3 separate regions of the Homo sapiens genome follow, and regions 1 and 3 are each linked to region 2. Evidence: promoter capture Hi-C in human tissues and cell types (Jung and others, 2019). All regions are on one chromosome and are shown on one strand. The core of a region is centred on a gene start or on the middle of the fragment in contact, and the rest is flanking DNA. Distances in the headings are between cores, read along the strand shown. Region 1 holds the start of ZNF134 (zinc finger protein 134). Region 2 holds the start of ZNF71 (zinc finger protein 71). Region 3 holds the start of ZNF606 (zinc finger protein 606).

Region 1 (3,282 bases), core at 315-2,814, 1.0 Mb before region 2:
GCCCCCGCCAAAACCACACGTCCTACACAACTCACATGTCCCACCACTGTAACTCACCTTCCCCTTCCCTCTTCCTTATTTGGAAAATACTCACAAATACCCAATTGGCTCAGCTTAGATTAAGCGGTCCGACCCCAGCCCATGGGGGAGTGACACAGAGGAAGGTAGGGACTATGGGTTAGAGATAAAAACCCCTTCCCTCCTTTGTTCAGTGTGCTCTTGGGATCGTGATTAACACAGGCAGCACACTTGCACAGAAGTAAATTGCCTTGCTGAGAAAACTTTTGCCTGAGTGCTGGTTTCACTTTGCAGCACCAAGCATTGACTTCCAACAACACCATCTAGAATGCTTTCACATGCCAGGACCCCTCCTTTCTGGAAGGAATCTTAAGTGTCCACCCCTTCATCCCTGGCCTTCCACCCTAAACCCACCTCTCACTTCAGAGACCACACAAAATAACTTCCTTGAAATTCCACCCTCTAAATCTGATCTACTACAGGCTTTGACCTTATGCCTCACCCATTGAAGTCTCTAGCACAACTCCCTCTCTAGAACCCCAGACCTGCATGTTCAGCTACCCGTGATGAACCTCCAGTGCAGAACACCTTAGATTCACCAAGTCCAAAACCCAATTCCTGATGCCCCTGAAACGTGCTCCCTGCTGTGACTTACCAATTTCCATTCTTTCACACGTTCAGGAAGGAAAACAGGCCAAAAAAACCCTGGATAGCCCTTTCCTCCCTACATTCACTCACGACCACATCTGATGCGGCAGGAAACCCCATTGGTTCCATCTTTAAAAATCTACCCAGAATCTCATGACTTCCCCACCCAACCCCTCCTGCCACTGCTCTGGCCCAGCCACCACCGCAACACTTCTGGAGTTTGTTGCAGGGACCTCCTCAAACGTCTCCTTGCCTCCATCCTCATCGTTTCTACCTCACTGTAGTCGGTTTCCTCCTCAGCAAACATTGGAATACTTTAAAAATCCTTTTTCGGATCCCTTCCCTCCACCATTCAAAACCCGCCATGGCTCCTATCGTCCTCGCAATGAAGGAGCAACTTCTCCCCTCGACATTGCAGGCCTGACTACGGTTCACACACGCTCCCGACTGCTACGGGCTCAGTCCAGCTCCAAACCTATGCTCAGGCTGCCCCTCTGCCAGTCACACTCGCCCCCACCCACCAGCGCCCCGCTGCCTTGGACACTGGGGCCTGCGCTGCAGGGACTCAGACAGGCGCTCCTCATTTGGAACTTCAGGATTTGGGGCGGGCGAAAGTCTGGGAAAGGCAGCACCCACCTGCGCCGGGCCCATCACCGCGGCCGCCGCCATCACAGTTCGTAGACCACCCGGAGCCGCGAGGGGGTCCCAGGTCGCGGGACCCTGGCACCGCGGTCGTCCGTCCCCGGGGGCGCAGGCGGGGTCTTCGCTGGCGAGCCACTCCGCAGAGCGAACAGCGACTTCTCCCGCACCCTCCCGCTTCCGTCACCTCGGAACCGCCCAGCAACCCCGAGCTTCTGCTCCGATGGTTCCACCTAAGAGCCGACAAGATGTCCACCGCGAGGAAGATACCGGAAGTCCCGCCCAGAGAGCTTCCGTCCGCAGGGAGACGCCCCTAAGAGTGCCGCCGCCGGGCGGCGCACAGGTTTCTGGGCAATGCAGTTCTCATGTGCACTTGGCCGTGGTGACGGCTAACTCCCCTGCACGCTGGGCAAAGGCCAAATGGTACTGCGAGGGGCGCTGAGAAATTATGCCCTGAGACTCTGAGGTCAGGGCGTGGCTTCGCTCCTTTTAAAGGACCCTCAACCAGGTCTTGTGTAGTGAGGTCTGCAGGGATCCCCGAAATATTGGGATATATTCTTACAGATGTTCCCTGAAGCCACACCACCAAATGGACACACAACATCCAATGTCACTCTGAGTCCACTCATAGTTCAGTCAAATTTCCTTCATTTAAAAAATATGTGTACTGTAGAGGGAAGCTTTGAGTCAGTTTTGTGAGCCTCAGTTGGGTCAGAGTTAACAGAGAATTGTCCCCAGGCAGGGCCATGGAGTGGAAGAATGGTCTCCAGACAGTGGCTATGGAGGGATGCTGGAGCTCCCTGAGGCAAGTGGACTAATATAGAGCTCTTCCTCTGGTTTCCTCAGAAAAAAAATACCTGAGAGAACCATGAGGAGGAAGACAGGCGAGAGAAGGTGGTCAAGGAAGGCACCTTTCCTGCCTGTATGGTCACTAATGTCCAACCAAAGGAGAAATATTCTTTTATCCAAATGAGAGTTCCTAGCCCAAAAGTTGAGATATATCTATTTCCTTTTGGTGATGTTTCTTATCTGAAAAGAAGAACCATTATAAATGCTTTTATATGCCAAGACAGGGGCTGAAAATGTGGTGTCTGAACCCAGAAATAAAGATTTGGAAAATTGGGATCAGATTTCTTGGCTGGGAGGTGATTCTCATTTCACCTGCAATTACACCGACAGTGTCTGAATTGAGAATTGAGATTTATTTATGGTTTTAAAAAAGAAAAGGGCGAGTGTATGGGGAAAGAAAGACAAAAACATTTGTGAATTGTTTAAATTACTCAAAAGTTGTTTTGTGTTTTTTTTTTTTGAGACGGAGTCTTGCTCAGTCGCCCAGGCTGGAGTGCAGTGGTGCGACCATAGCTCACTGCAGGCTCCGCCTCCCAGGTTCACACTATTCTCCTGCCTCAGCCTCCGGAGTAGCTGGGATTACAGGCGCCTGCCACCATGCCCGGCTAACTTTTTGTATTTTTAGTAGAGATGGGGTTTCACCGTGTTAGCCAGGATGGTCTCGATCTCCTGACCTCGTGATCTGCCCGCCTCAGCCTCCCAAAGTGCTGGGATTACAGGAGAGCCCCCGCGCCCGGCCAAATTACTCAAAGTTAATAATTCTGTAGTTATTCACAGATACATGACGAAATGGACCTGGAGAAACATATCTGTGATAAGTGAAAACGGTTAAGATGACAGCAAAATTTGAGCAGGAGACATTGAATTCTGAGAAGTGAGCAAATGAAGCTGAGCACACAGCTGTGTTAGAACTATGACTACAAGCAGCGTTTAGTCTCCAAAATGTAATTTTATTTATTTATTTAATTTTGGAGACAGGATCTCACTGTGTTGCACAGGCTGGAGTGTAGTGGCACGATCATAGCTTGCTGCAGCCTCAAACTCTTGGGCTCAAGGGATCCTCCCACCTCAGCCTCCCAAAAAGTTGGGATTACAGATGTGAGCCACCATGCCAGGCCTCTTTTCATT
Region 2 (3,198 bases), core at 390-2,889:
TCTGGATTCTTCTTCCTCTGAGCTTTTTGGCATTTCCTTCCTTTCTTCCATTTCCATTGTTTCCAAGCGGGGATTCCCTCGGGGAAAATCCTGCAACCTTGTGTCAGCTGAGCGGAAAGGGAAAAAAGGGATCTCCCATTTGTCTGGTGGTTAATTGTGGGGGCTCTGGAACCTGGATGCCTGAGGTAGCCTTGGGTGAGTCACTTAGTCTGAGACTCAGTTTCCCCATCTGTAAGATAAGGATGATGATGGTCTCTACCTCAGAGTTACTGGGACATCTATAAATGGCCAGCACTGGCTGCATACACATTCCCTGAACAAATCAACCTCTCCTTGGTCAGAACAGAGTAGGGCACAGAGACCCTTTGGGAGTCTGATCCCACTTTAAGAAGATCCTGTGGGAGGCAGAAGAAACAGCCTTCCTTTTCCCCTCCTCCACCCGGCCCCTGTCACTCCCAGGCCCCTACGCCTCCAGAGCCTTCTATGGGCAGGAAAAAGCCAGGGAACTGTGGGCAGGCAGACTAGGAGAAGCGTAGGGTGAGAAGGTAGTGGCTCTGCTAGGCTCCCTTGTCCAGGCATATAGTCTTTGGAAGAGGCACACCCAGACGCACCCACCCCTGCAGAGTCACACGCAAACATCAAGAAATACTCTAGACACAGGTGGACACACAGAGATAGGAAAGATCCAGACAGGACTGGCCCCTGGAAAGACACAGCCCTACACTCATGCCAAGAGACATGCATGGAAAGAGCAGACATAGTGGACACCCAGAGGGCACCCTCCCACAGAGACACTCATGGACAGAGATCAAGGCTGACACACCCACAACACCAAAGACAAGGACACAGGCAGTCACTCAGAGATATCACCACACATGCATAGGCAGAGACCTGGAGAGACACAGCTCCACAGAGAGACCAAGACTCTGAAGAAGTGGGACACACACACACACACGCTACCACACATGACCCACACGGACATACATGGACACATTCACATTCATTCACAGACCCAGCCTCTGGACGACACGCAGTTTCTCTCTCTGTCTCATACACACACACACACACACACACACACACACACACAAACACACACACACAATCACAATATCCAGAGACACAGCCATACCCTCAGGACGACACAATCTGTCTCACACACACATACAGACCCACACAGACACACACACAGACACATTCACAATATCCACAAAGACACAGCCTCATCCTCAGGATGATATGCACTGCCTGTCTCTCACACAGGCCACCTTCCCCCCAGGATGGCCCTCGTGTTCATGCAACTTTCCTACCTCCAACCCACTCACGCCTCTCCCTCCCTGGCCCCGGCCTCTCCTCAGCCCCTCAGCCTCCAGTCAGCCTCTCCTTAGCCCCTCAGCTTCCCCTCAGCCTCTCCTCGGCCGCTCAGCCTCTCCAGGCGCACCTCGGTCCCGGCCTGCACGCCCTCTCCTGCGCCCGCACGCCCTGGACCAGCACCCAGCCCTGCACTCCCCGTACCTGGGCCTGCACGCCGTCTCCCCGAGGCCGCGCCCTCCCCGGGGCCAGGTTCCGGCCCCCGGCACAGGTAGAGGGTGGGCGCGACCCCGCAGCCACACTCACCGGCTCGCCGCTCTGCCAGGACAATGACCGCGCCCGCTAGGCCCGCCCGACGGCAGTGCGCCTGCGCGGACTGCGCCGGACTACGCTTCCCAGAAACCCGCGCGCGCCACCTCCCCCCGGCTTTTTTCAGCCGAGCCCAGCCGAGTGGAGCCGAGCGGAGCCAACTGAGCTCCTCCATCTCACAGAGGACTCCGCGGCCAAGGAGGCTGGGGCGAGAGGGAGGATTGAGGGGGAGGAGGCAGGGAAAGGGAAGGAGAGAGAAGAGACGGAGGGAGGAAGGGTGGAAAGAAAGACGGAGGGAAAGGAGGGGCGAGGAGGAGGGACAGGAGGGAAGGGGGGAGGAGGGAGAAAAGAAGTAGGAGAGGTGGGAAGAAGGATGGAAGGGGAGGAGGGATGGGGAGGAGCGGGGAGAAGAGAGAGGATGGAGAGGGACTTGGGGAGGAGAGCTGGGGAGGAAGAAGAAGAGATGGAGAAGGAGGAGGGGTTGGAAGAAGGATGGAGGGGAAGGAGGAAGGGCTGGGGAGAGACTAAGGGAAAAGAACAGGTCAGAGAGGAGAGGAACCAACAGAAAGAAGAGGGAGCGGGTGGGAGGAGGGAGGGGCAGGGAGGCAGGAAAGGAAGAGAATGGAGACGGCAAGGAGGAGAAGGAAGAAAGGGTGGAAAGGGGGATGAGAAGGTGGAAAGGACTATAAGGAAGAAGAAAAGGGTGGGAAAAGGAGGAAAGAAAGAGGAAGTCGAGTTGGGGAGGGCAGGACAGGCTGAAGAGAGGAAAGAATGGGTAAGGAGAGGGAGGAGGGAGGAAGGAAAACAGAAAAGGACAAGGGATGGGTGGAGGCAGAGAAATGAGGGGGATAAAAGAGGCGTGTCACATCTGCTGCAGACATTTCTGCAGTCCAGCCAATGGACTGGCCTGAGGGACCATCCCAGGCAACTTTAAACCTGATAATCATGCTTATCTTTAAAGAACACTTTTTAAGCATACAGATGTGCAAAGAAGAAAATGAGCATAGGTGTAGAATAAAATGTATAGGAGACTATCGGTTTGGACTGAGTTCCTGCACTAGGCCCAACAGATCAAATCGAAATGGAGCTACTCATGCTGAAGTTCCAGGCCACCAACTCCAACTAAGTTGTTACCTGACCTCCTCTCAGGAGAGAAAGAGAGAGATAATAGCCAAGTCCCAAACAGGCCAGTTTAGCAGGCATGATAAAAGAAATCCCCTTTGCTTTAACCATGATAGGGAAAGTAACTTTGAAATGACCCATCCACTCTTGTTCTCTGTTTCTGCTTTCCTCAGCCCGTTTCTGTGTATGAAGCCATATTCCTCTGCTTGGATCACCAGAACACTAGTTCTATTTTATAGAAGGAGGTGTGGCTGGATTCTAGAATTGCAAATAAAAAACAACTAGATCTTTAAATGTCAATTCCCTATATCTTTAGATATAAGAAAAAAAGCATTAATCCTTGTTGTGAGTTTCCTTTGTTCTGACCCCTGGTCTCCACATTTTATGATTTATAAACAATCTTCACAGCCAAGCTACTTTCCAGATTAGTTGGGTAATACAGACAGGGGAGCTTACACA
Region 3 (3,119 bases), core at 252-2,751, 1.4 Mb before region 2:
TGGGTTCACCTTCCTGCCAGCTGGGGCCTGTCCCAACACCTTGCCCCTTCCACCTTACCTCTCTCATGGTCCTCTCCCTCGAATTCAGCCTGTCCTACTTGAAATTTTCCTCTCCCTTGAATTCAGCCTGTCCTACTTGAACTTTTCCTCTCCCTCTGAAAGGGCTACTCCCCTTTGCCCACCCACAGTGAGTGCCAACACCACCCAACAACAAAAGCCCAACCCACAGGCCAGCTTTTTAAAATGATCCTCCATTACTAGTGGAAATATCTTCAAAATCTCTCTTGCCCACTGCTCACTCAAGTCTAGCTTCCTAAATGGCCATGCTTTCTTTGGTATCACCACCTACAGTCCCTCAGTCCCTTTTTTTGAGACAGAGTCTTGCCCTGCTGCCCAGGCTGGAGTGCAATGGCTTGATCTCGGCTTACTGTAGCCTCCGCTTCCCGGGTTCAAGCGATTCTCCTGCCTCAGCCTCCCAAGTAGCTGGGTACAGGTGCCCTCCACCAAGCCCGGCTAATTTTTGGTATTTTTAGTAGAGACGAGGTTTTATCATGTTGCCCAGACTGGTCTCGGAACTCCTGACCTCAGGCGATCCACCTGCCTTGGCCTCCCAAAGTGCTGGGATTACAGCTGTGAGCCACCGCGCCCGGCCCGTTTTTGTTTGTTTTAATGCCGGGTCTTGCTCTGTTGCCCAGGCTGAAGTGCAGTGGTGCGATCATAGCTCACTGCAACCTTGACCTCCCAGGCTCAAGCAATCCTTCCACCGCAACCTCCTAAGTAGCGGGGACTACAGGCGCGCGCCATCACACCGGGCTAATTTTTGTATTTTTTTTGTAGAGATGTGGTCTCGCTATGTTGCCCAGGGTGGTGTCGAACTCCTGAACTCAACTGATCCTCCCGCCACAGCTTCCCGAAGTGCTGGGACTACAGGAATGAGCCACCGCTCCCGAACCGCTCCATGCATATCGATAGAGGAAAACTCACAGGGTGCGTCGCTGGTAACCCATGCTCCCATAAAGCCTGGCCTCTGGAAAGAGACTTGGGAACGAGCCCTGACGTTCTCAGCCGTCGAGCTTCACAGAGAAGGGTAGCTCGAATTAGGTTCCTTATCTTAAAGAGAATAACAGCAGTCACTTTCTCACAATCTTGCGAACGCCAAATGGAAGGATCCCTCGAGAGCGCTGAGAACTCGCCGAGCTCCTCCCGGGAAACCCGGTACCACGAGGCGCCATTTTGCGGATGGGCAAACCGAGGCCCGCGGGGCCGCGACTTACCCAGGCCTTTTTGCAGTGGGAGGCGACGGTGGAGGAGGGTGGTCTGGGACCGGGACAACAAAGTCCATCCTGCCGCCGGCTTCGACGCAGGTGCCAGAAAGGTCCCAACCCCGCCCAGGCAGGGCGAGGCGGCGCGGCCCAGGAACCTGTCATGGCGGCGCCGCTGCCCGACGCCGGAAGTGCCCGCCTGGAACTACAGCTCCCAGCAGACCCCGCGGCGCGCTCCGGTCGACGCCGGGGAAGCAGCCGCCATTGTCCGCGGCTGAGGTGAGGCCTTTGCTCAGGCTGTGGGGCCGCCGTAGCTGCGGGGCTTGGGGGGTCAGGAGAGCCGGCTGGGAGAGGCGGCGTCAGGGTGGGTCCTGCGCCTGCCCTTTCCGCGCCGGCTTTGCGCCGTCGTTGCCGTCGGTTCTCCAGCCAGCAGCCTGCCTCCGGCCTCCCGCCTCCGGGCGTTCTTCGTTTTCTGGTCGGACGGGCCTGGGTGAACTCTGCTGCACGTCGGCTCCGCGGGCCTTTGTCCCCGAGGCCGCGCCGGGAGCTCCCAAGCGCACTCCTGGGCCGGACCTCGGCGCGGGACAAAAGCCAAACGCCCCAGGCGGGCAGACCCCGATCCTGCTGCGCCGCCTTCAAGGGGGACCGCCGGCCGCGAGCCAGGTGAGGCCGGGACGAGCTTTTGCAGCGTCGCGGCCGCGTCGGTCTTGAGGAGGAAATTTGGGTCGGGAGCTCTGGAAGCAGGTGATAAGGATGCTTCTGAGGCCATTGATGGGACGAATAACCCCGTTCGTTCCCCAGCCGTCGTTTCTCCCCCTGCCAGTTCACACAAAGCACTGTGAAGGACGTCAGACCTGGGTTGGAAACAGCTCCGGGTTCCCTTAAACATGCAGTGACGGCGGCGGTCACTGTCAAGTTGCAAATAATGGTGCAAAGTACGGTTTGCATTCTGCGTTTTCGCGCTGATTCCGGTGCTCCTGAGGCCCACTGTGTGTTCTAGTGCTTTATACACATACCCAGGAATCCATTCGAGAGGTTGCTGACTTGTACAAAGATCTGGAACCTGAGGAGTTAGGGGTCTGGGCGCCAGGCCCATCTCTAAGTCCTCCACACACACACAAGCTTAGGCTTAGTAAATCTTGGAGGTGAATTTTTTTTGGAGGTGGGATTAAATTTGCATAACATAATGTTCACTTTAAGCACTTAAAAGTGTGCAATTCACCGGTTTTATTGTATATTAATAAAGTTGTGCAATCATCCCCATTATCTAATTTTAGAACATTTCATCACCCCACAAAGAAACCCTTGTTCCCCTTAAGCAGTCACTCCCCATTTCATTTTTCCCCCAGCTCTAGGCAACCACTAATATATGAGGATTGCAAGTTGATTTTACAATAATTGTCAGATTAATCCAAAAGTTCCATCTGTGTTGTGACTGGCTGTCTCTTGGGAATAGCTGACAAATTTGTACCCTCTCATTCAGGATCATGCTCTTTTTTCCAGCTTATGCAAATTACCTTTCATTTCTCTCCAGGAATTGTGTTACTTTTTTGACATGTAAATTCTCTTTTCTTACGATGCTCCTTACAAGTTTTTTTGTTGCTTCGGTGGATGGATTCCCTTCTTTGTTCCCACTTGGTCTTCTGTGAGAAAGGACTAGTTTTGTCTTTTTTCACTTTTGTCACTAGGTTGGGATTTGCTGTGTTCCTGGGCAGGTGCCTGGTCAATCAGTCCTCGGGATGGCAGCCATCAACCCGTGGGCCTCCTGGGGTGAGTCCAAGTTGTGTTTCTCCTGGGCCTCCCCTATCATTAGCTGCTGCAGTCATGGGTCAGAGCTGGTGATGGGCTGAGGACTTT

Evidence for each region. Contacts are between HindIII fragments. The study calls those that stand out against the background at their distance.
Region 1: the fragment with the promoter of ZNF134 here is called in contact with the fragment with the promoter of ZNF71 in region 2 in 1 of the 25 tissues and cell types used here (dorsolateral prefrontal cortex).
Region 3: the fragment with the promoter of ZNF606 here is called in contact with the fragment with the promoter of ZNF71 in region 2 in 1 of the 25 tissues and cell types used here (spleen).

Annotation. Positions count from the first base shown.
Region 1 is chr19:57,612,524-57,615,805 of GRCh38, reverse strand. ZNF134 (zinc finger protein 134) reads right to left here and starts at 1,564. Exons shown (of 3, transcript NM_003435.5): 1 at 1,303-1,564. It also overlaps a transcript of ZNF530 not described here. RefSeq lists a silencer at 1,310-1,359 and an enhancer at 1,490-1,669. The HindIII fragment of the contact is 8,655 bases long and covers 1-3,282 here.
Region 2 is chr19:56,593,743-56,596,940 of GRCh38, reverse strand. ZNF71 (zinc finger protein 71) reads right to left here and starts at 1,639. Exons shown (of 4, transcript NM_001370215.1): 1 at 1,513-1,639. ZNF71-SMIM17 (ZNF71-SMIM17 readthrough (NMD candidate)) reads right to left here and starts at 1,639. Exons shown (of 5, transcript NR_163263.1): 1 at 1,513-1,639. RefSeq lists a silencer at 1,288-1,677. The HindIII fragment of the contact is 26,997 bases long and covers 1-3,198 here.
Region 3 is chr19:58,001,202-58,004,320 of GRCh38, reverse strand. ZNF606 (zinc finger protein 606) reads left to right here and starts at 1,501. Exons shown (of 7, transcript NM_001348022.3): 1 at 1,501-1,925; 2 at 2,951-3,032. The coding sequence starts at 3,002. It overlaps ZNF606-AS1 (ZNF606 antisense RNA 1), which reads right to left and starts at 1,427. Exons shown (of 4, transcript NR_036508.1): 1 at 1,275-1,427; 2 at 985-1,110. RefSeq lists an enhancer at 1,150-1,569. The HindIII fragment of the contact is 28,319 bases long and covers 1-3,119 here.